Regions from separate parts of the Homo sapiens genome. Here region 2 is linked to region 1. Evidence: promoter capture Hi-C in 16 types of primary human blood cells and fetal thymus (Javierre and others, 2016). All regions are on one chromosome and are shown on one strand. Each heading gives the region's core, a stretch centred on a gene start or on the middle of the fragment in contact. The rest is flanking DNA. Distances are from core to core; before and after follow the strand shown. Region 1 holds the start of IRAG1 (inositol 1,4,5-triphosphate receptor associated 1). Region 2 overlaps CAND1.11 (a long non-coding RNA gene).

Region 1 (6,667 bases), core at 1,599-4,098:
AAAAAATAATAACCTTTAGTCAGGATCATGACAATACCCTTTGACACTTGGGGGAAGCAGTGCTGGAAGATGAATTGAGTAAATCCCTGTTTACAGCAATGCTTTTGTTTTGTTATTATTTATTAATGTAAACACATGTTTTGCTCATATGATTCAAAACTTTAAATGTATCAATAAGGTGTAACCATGGTCAGTCTTTACCCCAGCCACTTAGTTTTATTCCCCATTGGCCACTAATCTAAATGTTATTCATTTCTTGTGCTAATTTTAGAGATGATATGCATACTCACATATGAACTTGTGTGTATACATGAATGCAAGTATATATATGTATTTGCGTGTATATATGTACATATTACAATATGTACACACACACACACACACTCTTTTTCACTCAAATAGTAGCATTTGATAGACACTGTTATTTTAGTTTTTCTACTTAATGTATCTTGGAATCTTTTCAGATCAGTACACCAAGAGCTTCCTCACCCTTTGTTGTGGCTGCACTCCATCTTCTGTTATGGCCCCAGTTGCTAGACATTTATGTTGTTTCCAATCCTTTTGCTTTTGTAAATAATGCTGCAATGAATAATCTTGTTCGTTTGTCGTTTCCCAAGTGTGGGAGTGTGTTTATAGAATAAATTCCTAGAAGTGGAATCGGGTCAAAGGGTATAATCTTGATAGTGCTAAGTTGTCCTCTATAGAACTTGTTCCATTTTTACACACTGACAAGTCATGTGTTTTATAAAATGGTATTGCTAATGCAATGATTAAAAAGTTATTTGGTGATGCCTTTGTGTGGTGAAAGCTGTGGGTCTTTACCCAAGAGAAACATAAACCACGTAGTGGCTTACATGCAATTTCAGTTGGCTCAGAGACCCCTGAAGGTTATCCGTGAACCCTGGGTTCAGAAACCCTGGCTGAAACGGAGGCAGCATGATAAAGAGGACAGAGCTTTAGGGACAGACCACCTGAATTCACATCTCAGTGCTGTCACTTATTTACTGGCTGTGGAACATCAAGCAAGTTGTTTTACTTCTTCCAGCCTCAGTTTCCTTTTGAAGGAAAGGCGTAGACACTTGTGAGGATAGAGTGCTTTTATGTAAATCATCTAATCTAATGCTAGGAATATAGTAGGTACTCAATATGATATATGATTTTGAACTCTCTCTCTCTCTCTCTCACACACACACACACACACACACACACACACACACAGCCAGCCCTAAGTTCCATTTCAACTTCTGATTTTGATTGTCCCTGTAGTGCCTGCTGCTGGACTCACAAGATCAACCTTTGAAGCGACATTCCCTAATGTGGGATCCTTGGACCAAGTACATGAGAATCACCCAAGGGCCTTCACTAAAATGCAGATTTCTGGGTCTATGTCAGATCCATAGAATTAGAATTTCTGAAAGAGGAACCCAAGGAGCTTCACACTTGGGGGTTCTAATGCACATTGAAGTTGGAGAAACAGCACTGAAGAGTTTGGTCAGTTCCTTCTAGACCATATACTTGCAATTCTAGTAGTTACCACCATGTGGCTTTGTGGGGGACGGGGGTTGTGGGGGGAGCCTGTACCTCCATGTGGACAGGTGTGGACACTTGAGAGAAAGCATGGCTAGTACCCAAGACAGCCTCCTCTGGTTTCATTTACAAAAAACAATTATTGATGAGGGTAGCGGACTTCATGCGCTGCACCCCTGTTAGTGATCTCTCTTACAACAACCACACAGAAGAGACAGGACTTCCTGAGAACCACATGCCTGAGGAAGGTGCTGGGATGGAGGCTCAGTGGGCCAGGCTCAGTGGAGAGCATCTGCCACTGCTGCACAACTGATCTGTGGCCAGGAGCTGAGCATAAGGACTGTGTTTGCCAGGAGAGCTTGAGGCCATAGGCCTGGGAGCTCCAATCCCTAGTGCTCTCTACCATGACTACTGAATGTTTTCTGGGTGGCTAATGATGGCCAAAAGCTAGGGTTCCCGGATTTATCAAACAAAAATAGAGGATGACTAATTAAATTTGAATTTCAGATAAATAACAGTCTTTAATACAAGTATGTCCTGTGTTTATCTGAAATCCAAATTTAAATGGGTGTCCTGTAATTTATCTAGCAACTTTACCTAGGGTTTCTCTGTGCTGCTCTAACCACAGAAGGGGCTGAAGTCCCCATGTGGCTTGCCCCCAGCTTGGAGCTCCATGATCCTGGCCTTGGGTAGGCCCTATACCCAAGGCAGGTGAAGAGTGTGTATGGACAGGGTATGGATTTCCTGGGCAGGGGCAGGAAGCTCATTCATACTGATCTAGCTCTTATGAGATGCTGGCAGTGTGTTAAACACTTGACTAACATCTCATTTAATCCCCTGACTACCTAGTGAGTCGGGCATTATCATTATTATTTCCACTTTAGAGATGAGGAGACTGAGGCTCCACGATGTTAAGACCACAGGCTGTTTAATGGAGGAGCAAGGTTGACATCCCTGGGGCTGGTGCCAAGTCTGGGAGTAGCTGAATCTCCCAGGCCATTCTCTCTGGCAATCCCAAGAGTTTAACGCAGTGGGAGCAGCCCCTGCCCCCGAATCCCCAGGACAGGAACCATTCCCAGTTTCTCTTGGCGCTGGCCCAGGGTCTTCTCCAGGCTCACATGCTTGCTGGAGGCTCCAGGCGGGTGGGGAGATCTGCAGGGTCCCTTTGTTCCCGTCCGGCCAGGACAGTGTCCAGTGGCACGAGTTGCCATGGGGACTGCCATCTGCTGTGTGGATACCCATCGGAGGGGCCCAGGGTGAGCGACTGCCCCAAAGGCCCAGCCTGCCCTGAGCCCTGAGGCCAGCTGGTCGGCTTTCCCTGCCATTATCCCCCGAGCCAGGCCGGAGTGGGGCTCCCAGAGGAGCTCTCGGCTCTAAGTCCCAGCCCCTCTCAGAGGAGGCGTGCGGCCGAGGTTCTGCAGCCAGAGGCTTCTCGGCTCTGAGCTCCGGAGCCAGATGTAACATTGACCTTAAATGGTAAAAGCTCCCCAGAGTGAAGAGAGGCTGGCCAGAGGAGGAAAGGAGAATAACTCAGTTTTAGGTAAGCCTCCCCTATATCCTAGAATAACCTGCCTCTTCGGCTGGGAAGCGGAGGGAACCTTCTCTTCCTTAAAGGTACAGGGTGCTGGGATGGGGGTGCTAAACTTTAACTTTCCAGGGGAGCTGGCTTTGTTGGGTGGCATTTCAGCTGAGTATCTTTATTGTTGCTGTCTTAAGTTTTAAATCAGAAGTGAATCTTGCCAGTCCTAACTTAACTAGATTGTGCTCCTTTTGCTTGCCGTTGGAAAGTGTGCACAGCTCAGGGTGAAAATGTGGGTCCTGACAGGCGATTGCAACCCCTAGCTTTCCTGTGGGCCCCTTTGTGGCAACAGTGGGGTCTTCAGCTTTGGCAAGTCTGCTAAGCAGAGCTTTCTCCCCTCTGTGCTTCCTGTGTCTCTCTCTCTGTCCCCCTACGCCCCTCTGCCTTGAACCTGGGCTGGCATGACCTGTCTAGATCCTTAAGCCTGCCTCTATTTCTGTCTCTGCCCTTCCCATCCTGTGTTCTTGTCACAGTCCCTGTTTTTATCTCTGTCCCTGTCTCCTCTTTTGTCTCCAGCTTCCCCTGGCCTGTGCCCTTCCCTGCTCCCTAGAGGGGGTGTATGTGCCCGGCCCGTGCCCGGCCCTGCTCACCTCCAGGGCTCCGAGTTGAAGCGATTCCTAGAGTGAGCACCATTTGAACTGGCTTTTTCCAAAGGAAAAGCCAGTGGAAGCCAGAGGCCAGAGAGAGGCCCAGCTGTCTTGCTCCCTCCTGCCCAGGAAACAGTTGTAAAGGCTATAGAGGCTCTGCAGTTTGAGTAAACAGCAGCCCGGGGTCTGGGACCCCTGGCCAGCACTCCAGCCTCCCAGAGCTCGGCAGCTGCTGAACACTCTTCAGGCTGCTCACTGGGGTGGCACAGGGAAGTAAATCTGGTCTGAGCAGAGTCTTTTGCAGGGAAAAGGAGGAAGCTTCCTGGGACTGTGAGGCTGGGGGTCCAAAGGAGTCAGGACCTGCCAAGGATTGTATTGCCCCCACCGAGGGACGATGACATGCTAGTGAGGCAGGTGGAGTTGCCCATCCCCCTGCACTCCCCTACCCCAACAGTTCTATGGGGGAGGGAACTCAGGTTAAGTGACTTGCCTAAGGTCGTTCCACCAAGATGGAGCGGAGCTAGGACTCAAACCCTGTATGAGTTTGTATGACTCTAACTCCAGTGCCCATGCCTCTCAACACAGACGTGAATGCCAGGGTATGATGCTGCCTCCAATTGTGTCTTGCGATTTTTGACCTAATGGACAAAACAGTTGTCATTATCATGTTTGTACTGTCCATGATTCCATAGTGCGTGTATGTGTGTGTGTGTGCATGCATATTTGGTGGGTGGCTGTTTATATTCACAGCGGATGCACCTATCTTTATGCTTGGAGGTAAGGGAGGCATTCCTGTATCCTTTATCATCTTGGAGGGATAACCATGTGCTAGCTGCTACTACATGATTGGTTATCCCCATAAATATATTTCTGAAAGAAAATAAACAGCAAACACATGGTTCTTACTATGTATTGAACACTGTTCCCCTTCCCATACAGTAACTCATGACTCCCACAGCTCTACAAAGCAGGGGTCATTCTTTCCACCCTGGTCTTGTAGAGGAGGACACTTTAGCACAGAGAGACTGCACAGCTGATGCTCAGCCCCAGGCCATGGTCTCTGGAGGCTCTGCTCTTGACCTCCATGGTCAGCTCCCGTCTGCTTGGGACCCCATGTCAGAGTGCAGCGGGGGAATCACCGGCCCCCTTGCAACATGGTGCATCTGAGGCTTTCCACGAGGGATTTCACATGCCCCCTCACAGAATGCCATGGGGGATGTATCTTTACCTTACTGCTCCAGGTGAGGACAGTGGGGCTAGGGGATGTTAAATGACTCGTCCAAGCTCACCCAGCCACCAAGTGACAAAGCAGGGAATTTAAATAGTATCTTGGGTGAGGAAGTTAGGGCCATGTGAAACCTACTTGAAACTGAATCCCTGGGAGGCTGAGGAGGCTCATGGTTTGGGGATGAGGAGTTCTGTGGGTCTGTGTGAGGAAGCTAGGTTCCTTGACTGATGGGCTGAACTATACGTGATGGGTCCTCAGCTTTCTAAAAAGCCCTGCCTTTCTCCTCTAAGTCTTTGTAACAGAGGTGGACAGAAGCACCCCACACCTCCTGGAGGAGCAGACTGAGCCCTGCAAGGGCGGAGACCTTATCCCGTTCCTCACCCGTTGTGTGTCTAGCACCCAGAATGCCGGGAGCACACGAAGTGCTCAGGTTCAATCATGTTTCTGTGAATAAATGGACACAATGCTTATAAAGTGGGTTCTGGTTACACAGGGCCCTGGGTTGATTTTGTACATGTGCCTGATGATCAGATTCATCTAGTTTGACCCTAAAGAACACAAGGTGGGGGCCTGAAGTTACCCACCTCTCTCACCCTGCCTCCTCTCCTGGGTCACCTCACAGAGCCTGGACTGCCCCTCAGCCGCTCTCTCTGGGGCTTATTGGTCAGCAGAGGGATTGTTTGCTGACTGAATAGAAGCAGAGGCCTGGGTAGATAGGGAGAAGAGAGCTTGGGGCCCCCAGACTCTGGCCCTGCCCCTGCCCCTTGGGGAGCTGAGTCAGAGGAGGGAGATGGAGAGCTGAGTTCTCAGGTAGTGAATGTAAAAGGAAACGGGAGAAAATTGGTATTAATTGAGCTTCTACTTTGTGCCAGGATCTGTGCTAGATCTGTTATTTAATTTAAGCCTCATGTTAGAGATGAGGAGAGAGGCATACAGCTGGTAGGTGGTGGACTCCAGCTCAAGCCACCTTGGTCCAAAGCGGGCGCTTCCTGCATTAGATGTCACCCTGCCGCTAGTTAGTAACTTAGGTCCTGGGGCAGTTACTGAGTGTCACAGTCCAAATCACAGGAAAATCACGAATAGAGGGAAAGGGGATATCATGTTAGTCCTGTGGACCTTGGAGGCTAGACTCTGAGTTCAGGCGACAGTCCAGGGCAGCCTCACAAATGGGCCTTCAAATTCAGAGTCTTAGCAGAGGTAACTCACGCCCATGACCCTGGACAAGCCCTGCCTTCTCTGCAAGGGCTTTCTCCAAGGGAGGTGGAAAGCAGAGGACAGTTGGTCGGACAGGAAACATTTTTTTTTTTTTTAGACAGGGTCTCGCACTGTCACCCAGGCTGGAGTGCAGTGGTGCAACCCCACCTCCCGGGTTCAAGCAATTCTCATGCCTCAGCCTCCCAAGTAGCTGGGATTACAGGTGAGTACCACCATGCCTGGCTAATTTTTACATTTTTAGTAAAGATGGAGTTTTGTCATGTTGCCCAGGCTGGTCTCGAACTCCTGACCTCAAGTGATCAGCCCACCTCAGCCTCCCAAAGTCTGGGATTATAGGCGTGAGCCATCGCACCCGGCCAGACTGAAAACTTTTCCTAGCGGAGAAGACATGTAAAAAAAGTCTGCTAAGGCTGGGCTTAATCAGCTCTGGTTACTTTCTTCCTATTACTTTTTTATTTGTAATTTGTAATTTCTATTCAGTTTTTTCTAGAAAAAAAAGTAATGCATGTTCTTTGCTAGACTTTCTTGGAA
Region 2 (6,667 bases), core at 264-2,763, 260 kb after region 1:
TTTTGTCTGTGATTTCTTCTTTGACTCATTGATTATTCAGAAATGTTCTTTAATTTCCATATATTTGTGAATTTCCCTCTGTTATTGATTTCTAATCTCATTCTGTGTGGTTAGGAAACATACTTTATATTATTTCAGAACTTTGAAATTTACTGAAACTTGTTTAATGACCTGACATATGGTCTAAACTGGAGAATTCTCCATGTGCACTTAAGAAGAATGTATAGTCAGTTGTTTCTGAGTGAAGGGTTATATTGCTATTAGATCTAGTATGTTTATATTGGTATTTAGTCTCTATTCCCATATTGATTTTCTGTCTAGTTGCTCTATCCATGATTGAAAGTGGTGTATTGAAGTCTTCAACCATTATTGTATCAATTCTGTCAGTTTTTGTTTCATGTATTTTGGGTCTCTGTTGTTAGGTGCATATATGTTTATAATTTTTATATCTTCTTGACAAATTGATTTATTTATAATTATAAAACTGTTCTTTGTCTCTGATAACAATTTTTGTCTTAAAGTCTATTTTGTCTGATATTAGTATAGCCACTCCAGCTTTCTTTTGGTTACTGTTTGCCTGATATATGTTTTTCCATTCTTTTACCTTGAACCTATTTCTGTTTTTGAATCAAACATGTGTCTCTTATATGCAGCATATAGTTGGATCATGTATTGTCCATTCTGCAAGTCTCTGGCCAGTCCTATTCTGAAGTTTTCTTGTAATACTTGCCAAATGCAGAAATAGTAGCCAACACATCTACTAATGTTCTGTTTTTCAGTCTCTTTTCCTAGAGATGCCATATAAGTAAATATGAAGCTTGCCTCCCAAGTTAGATTGGTTAGTAATATTTTGGCACAACATAACATGCATTGACATATTTCTGGTCTCCAACACCAGGCTTCCTCTCAGCACACCATCAGCTATTATAGCAGTGCCCTATTTCAATGTACCTATATCTGTCTTAGTATGATATTTATATTAGTCATAGTATGATAAACTATACCCTAGTAATAAATTAACTCAAAAATCTTAGTGTCTATTCACAATAGCCAAGATTTGGAAACAACCTAAGTGTCCATCAATAGACAAAGGGATAAAGAAAATGTAATACATATACACAATGGAGTACTATTCAGTCATTAAATAAATGAGATCCTGTCATTTGCAAAAATATGGATAGAACTGGAGGTCATTATGTTAAGTGAAATAAGCCAGACACAGTTAGACAAATTTCACATGTTCTCACTTATTTGTGAGAGCTAAAAACTAAAACAATTGAATCATGGAGATAGAGAGCAGAATGATGGTTACTGAGGGCTGGAAGGGTAGTTGGTGGGGTGAGGGGGAAGAGAGATTCATCAGTGGGTACAAAAAATAGAAAGAAATAAGATCTAGAATTTGACAGTACAACAGGGTGGCTATCATTAACGATAATTTAATTATATATTTTAAATTACTAAAACTGTGTAATGGGATTGTTTGTAACACAAAGAAAGAATAAATGTTTGAGGTGATGATACTCCATTTACCCTGATGTGACTATTATACATTGTATGCACATATCAAAAGATCCTATATACCCCATAAACATATACACCTACTATGTAGCCACAAAAACTAAACATTAAAAAAACACTTTTAAGTTTAAATCTTAGCAGTCTAACCCAACAAAGGTTTATTTCTCACTCATGTCACCATCCAAGGCAGGTCAGGTAACTCCTGTGTGGCTTTCTCCAAGCAGTAAAGATGTTCCCATCTGGCAATTTAGGCATTTCAGAGCTCTTCACTTCTGGAGCCATAGAAAGGAGTGAAGAGGAGTGGCTGATAATGCAGCGGGGCCAGGGGGCGGGGGTGTTATTTCCAGGATAGAAAACGGCACAAAGTTTTCTGCTTACTTCTGATGGGCTACACATCACATAACTCCAAATCAACTGCAACAGAAATAGGGACTTTATAGGAACACATTGGTATTTGGTGATCACTAGTAGTCTCCACCACACCCCATTCCATAAACAAATCAAAATTTCACTTTGAAAGGGGAGAAGAGTGTCTAGAGTCAACTATTTTATGAATACAGGCCATGTAGGGTTCTAAGAAGCATCATGATTAAGTGGTTTTAGCTCTGGAGCCAGTCCATCTGGGTTCAAATCTTGGATCTGCTGTCTATTAATTATGTCACCTTAGGCATACTTAAGCCCTATAAGCTTCGGTTTCTTCATCTGTAAAGTGGGGATTAAATATTACCTACCTCCTAGGTTTATTGTCAACATGAAATGAGACATTTCAGTGCAGTACCTAGCATACATTAAATGTATAACAGATATAACCTATTATTAGCTAAAGAGCTAGAAAATAATGGGACATGAAATAAAACCATACAGATAATATTATAACTGTTAATGATATTTCCCTCTGCATACCTGATTGGAAGTGCTCTTGTCTGGGGGCTCTAAGCAGTGGCAGGAAACAGGAGGCAAGACAGATGAGGCGCTAATAGGCCTACTTATATGAGATGAACAGGCATCTGATAATGGTATTAGCTCTCAGAAGTGCATTAGTCCAGGCATGAGAATGCCCCCCTGAGGACTAAGAGAGGAGAGACTTAATTGAAGTTCAATTTAAATCTCAATCATATCCCTACTCACAGGAGAGTAGAGCTGCCTGCCTGGTGGCAAGAAGCTTGGACTCTACTTGGGCTGCCTCTGATATTTCAAACCACTCTGTAGATCTGCGAATCCCAGTGGGAGAGTCTAGAGGGAAAATGGCAAGTGTGAATCTTCCAGCACCATTCTGGGAAGCAGGACTAGGAGCTCTTGTTGTTGCCGCAGCTAAGAGGTGATACTACAAGGGGATCAGTGAGATAACGTAATTCATCTGAGCTGTGCACAGTCAATCTGCTGTCTGAATTCAGGGTCTTCATCCGAGAGATGATAGAGCCTAGTGGTTAAGAGCACAGGTTCCAGAGTCAGACTTGCTGAGTTCAAGTCCTAGCTCCTCCCTTGAGTTGATTGTGTGAATCTAAAGAAGTCACTAAGTCCTTCAAGCCTTAGATTATTCATCTGTAAACTGGGATTTGTATTATTGTCTTGGATGTCTTCTATTTGCCCTTCCATATGTGCTCTCATTCCTCTCTACCCTGACCTGTGTCCCAGGAGGATGGCCTATATGAACCACATCCAGGGACTCCTTTGCCCTCTGGCTTCTAGTTGCACCCATGAAATGGGAAGGTGGGAGGAGAGTGACATCTTGGTGCTTATTCCCCTGGTACCCACACCACTGGGTTGCTAAGGGTTGGTTATGACCCTCTCCCAGAGACTGAAACTACTTTCAGGCAGCCTTTTGACAGCTCTTTCCATAGGTTCCAGAAGCCACTACCTCCTCTTTCCCCTTCAGGCCTGGGATGGTAACAGCTCCCATACTCACTAGCCCCAAGATACTGCAACATCCTTTGTTGCTTTCCCTAAACTCTTCTCACTTAATCCCCTCATTAAATGCTCTTCAATTACCCACTTTTCAATGTGCCAAAGCCCTGAGTGATAGAATTGTGTGCTTGCAGTTATCTCCCTTTGAGTGACCAATCAGCTCACAGGGATTCCATTTCTCTGAGCACAGCTCCTATATAAACCTGAGAGAGCCTGGTGGCCATGCCTATGTTACAGGGTCCTTCAACCTGATTGGTCCAGGGATATACACCTGACCCAAGATAGGCCAATCAGATTCTCCCACCCTGAAACGTGGTATTTGGAACAGAGTGATAATAGGGGCTAGGAGCTAGCAGTGCTGCACCAGGTTTAACCCCAAATTCACCTCCTAAGGGGACAAGATCAGGCAAGAATGGGTTCTTGTCCTTCCAAGTTTTGATTGTTCAATCCTTCCTCTGACAGGGTATCCATTAGATACTCTATCATCCTTTCAATTCATTTGTTCTTTTCCTGACTAGCTAGATTTGGTTTCTGTTGCTTACAATCTAAAGAACCTCAACAGACTCAGCACCTCATGGAATTTTTATTAGATATATGTAGGGTTTTTAGCAAAGTGCTTAGTTTATGGCAAGCTCTCAATAATTTTTTACATTTATTATCTGTAGAAGTAGAGCTAATAATTGCCTCACAGGTTTTGTGACAATTAAATGAGTCTGTGCAGTATCTACTAAACCCTGATGGTCACACACAGAACTCACATCTGGAAAATTAAGTAGAGGTTCTGAATGAATCTCAATTGGTTCTAACGTCCTGCAAGAGGGATAATTTTAACAATGCCTCAGACTGATCAGCCCTGGAATGGACATGTTATTTGGTCTGCTTGTGTTTCTTCACTTAGAAATGGTTCTGCCCTTGCTTCCAAGGGAGACTTGTGGGACTGCCACTCAAGTAATAGGGAGGAAGAGGGGCAAATATGACAAGCTGGCCAGACAGAAGACCCATCCCCTGGACACAGGGATGTCCAAGATGCCCAAGCAATGAGCAGTTGGAGTCCTCTGAGGAACAGGGGGGGCTCTAGGAGGAGTCTCTTCTTCTGAGGTCACAAGCTTAAGGATTCTGAAAACCTGGAGTCTTTGAGATTCTTTCAACATGTGGGAAAAGTGTGCTAGGAAAGAAATTCATCATAGAGAGAAGCAGGCCCACAAGAGAGGAAAAGAGAGAAACAGATTCCTGGCAAAATTTTTGGGTTTCCTGAGCCAGCTACACTTAAAGCTGAAACCTAGAGTTTTCAGTTATGATCACCAATATATTTCCTTTCTTTCTATGTTGATTTGAGATGGATACCTGTTATGTGCAATTGAAATAGTCCTATTATATAAACCAATCTTCTGAAAAGTTTAGACACTGTCAGAGTTATTACCTTTGTCTTAACAAAAGCCCTGGGAAATAAGCGGGTACAGAAATTTTTCTTCCCATTTTTCTGGCAGAAAAAAAAAACCCTTATATTAAGAAACATATCCAAATTTACACAGCAAGTCAATGCACCAAAATGGCCAATGAGTCAGGGTCCTATCAGGGCCAATATCAGGGCCAAATTATTTATGGCTTTTGTGAGTCCCCAATACGTTTGTCTTTCTGAGCTCCTTCCTCCATAAAATAATACTTAAAATTATATTTTATGAATTCATGAGTATAAAGACAAATATAATCCAGTTTGGGTTCGTTGTTATATATTTTATATTCATTTTTTTCTATTTTTAAAAGAAATTAAAATTAATACTTTTTTATAGGGCTGGTCCCTAATGTGCCTACTAGATAAGCTGGCTTTCAGTCTTCTTTGCAAAAGAAATTAGAAGAGAGTATGGGGACGTGGTGTTTCAGAGGGAATCGGGGGCAAGGCCAATGGCAGCTCCACTGGAGAGATGTGAGGCTTGTGGTCCTGGGCCTAGCCGGGTCGCAGCAGCTGAGCTGGAGGTCAAGGATGCACTCCAGGAGAGTTCCATAAAAATATATCATCAGCTCCAACCTGATATTTGACCTAGCCATGGAAAACCTCATTGGCTCCTCACTAGATCAGAGCATAGCTGGCACTCTTAAAAACGCTTCCCATGAAAAAGTATCAGGAATGAAAATTTAAGATACATTCCTACCACTTCAAGATATTCTTATACGAGTCAACAGTCTAGCAGATCAGCTAGTCTCTTTCATCATCAAGCTGACATACTCGAGGCACCAACACAGCAAAGGGCACAACATGTCTCTCTATGAGTATTTTTTATACTATGTGTGTGACCCATTAGTGAGGCATGAAATTAATTCTGTGAGTCACAATAAACTTAAAAAAAAAAATAAATGTAGGTGGCTGGCAAGATGGTGGAATAGGAACAGCTCCAGTCTGCAGCTCCCAGTGAGATCAACACAGAAGGCAGGTGATTTCTGCATTTCCAAATGAAGTATCCAGCTCATCTCACTGGGACTGGTTAGACAGCGGGTGCAGCCCACAGAGGACAAGCTGAAGCAGGGTGGGGTGTCACCTCATCCAGGAAGTACAAGGAGTTGGGGAACTCCTTCCCCTAGTGAAGGGAAACCGTGAGGGACTGTGCCATGAGGAACGGTGCACTCCAGCCCAGATACTACACTTTTCCCACAGTCTTCGCAACCCAGGTGAGATTCCCTCGGGTGCCTACACCCCCAGGGCCCTGGGATTCAAGCACAAAACTGGGCAGCCATTTGGGAAGACACCAAGCTAGCTGCAGGAGTTTTTTCATACCCCAGCAGCACCTGGAACACCAGTGAGACAGAACCATTCACGCCCCTGGAAAGGGGGCTGAAGCCTAGGAGCCAAGTGGTCTAGCTCAGCGGATCCTACCTCCTCAGAGCCCAGCAAGCTAAGATCCACTGACTTGAAATTCTTGCTGCCAGCACAGCAGTCTGAAGTCTACCTGGGATGCTTGAGCTTGGTTGGGGGAGGGGCATCCACCATTACTGAGGCTTGAGTAGGCAGTTTTCCCCTCATAGTGTAAACAAAGCCACAGGGAAGTTTGAACTGGATGGAGCCCACCACAGCTCGGCAAAGCTGCTGTAGCCAGACTGCCTCTCTAGATTCCTCCTCTCTGGGCAGGGCATCTCTGAAAGAAAGGCAGCAGCCCTAGTCAGAGGCTTATAGTTAAAGCTCGCATCTCCCTGGGACAGAGCATCTGGGGGAAGCGGCGGCTGTGGGCGCAGCTTCAGCAGACTTAAACGT

What was found. Contacts are between HindIII fragments. The CHiCAGO score rates a contact against its expected background, and 5 or more counts as called.
Region 2: a fragment that was not itself captured here is called in contact with the fragment with the promoter of IRAG1 in region 1 in 2 of 17 cell types (endothelial precursors and total B cells); the score reaches 6.2 in endothelial precursors.

What each region holds. Positions count from the first base shown.
Region 1 is chr11:10,689,936-10,696,602 of GRCh38, reverse strand. It overlaps IRAG1 (inositol 1,4,5-triphosphate receptor associated 1), which reads left to right and starts at 2,848. Exons shown (of 21, transcript NM_130385.4): 1 at 2,848-3,067. The coding sequence starts at 3,001. The HindIII fragment of the contact is 5,409 bases long and covers 1-4,013 here.
Region 2 is chr11:10,425,659-10,432,325 of GRCh38, reverse strand. It overlaps CAND1.11 (a long non-coding RNA gene), which reads right to left. Exons shown (of 4, transcript NR_103765.1): 4 at 1,653-1,950. Among named protein-coding and RNA genes, the nearest start is that of AMPD3, 26 kb to the left of the region's middle. The HindIII fragment of the contact is 1,388 bases long and covers 820-2,207 here.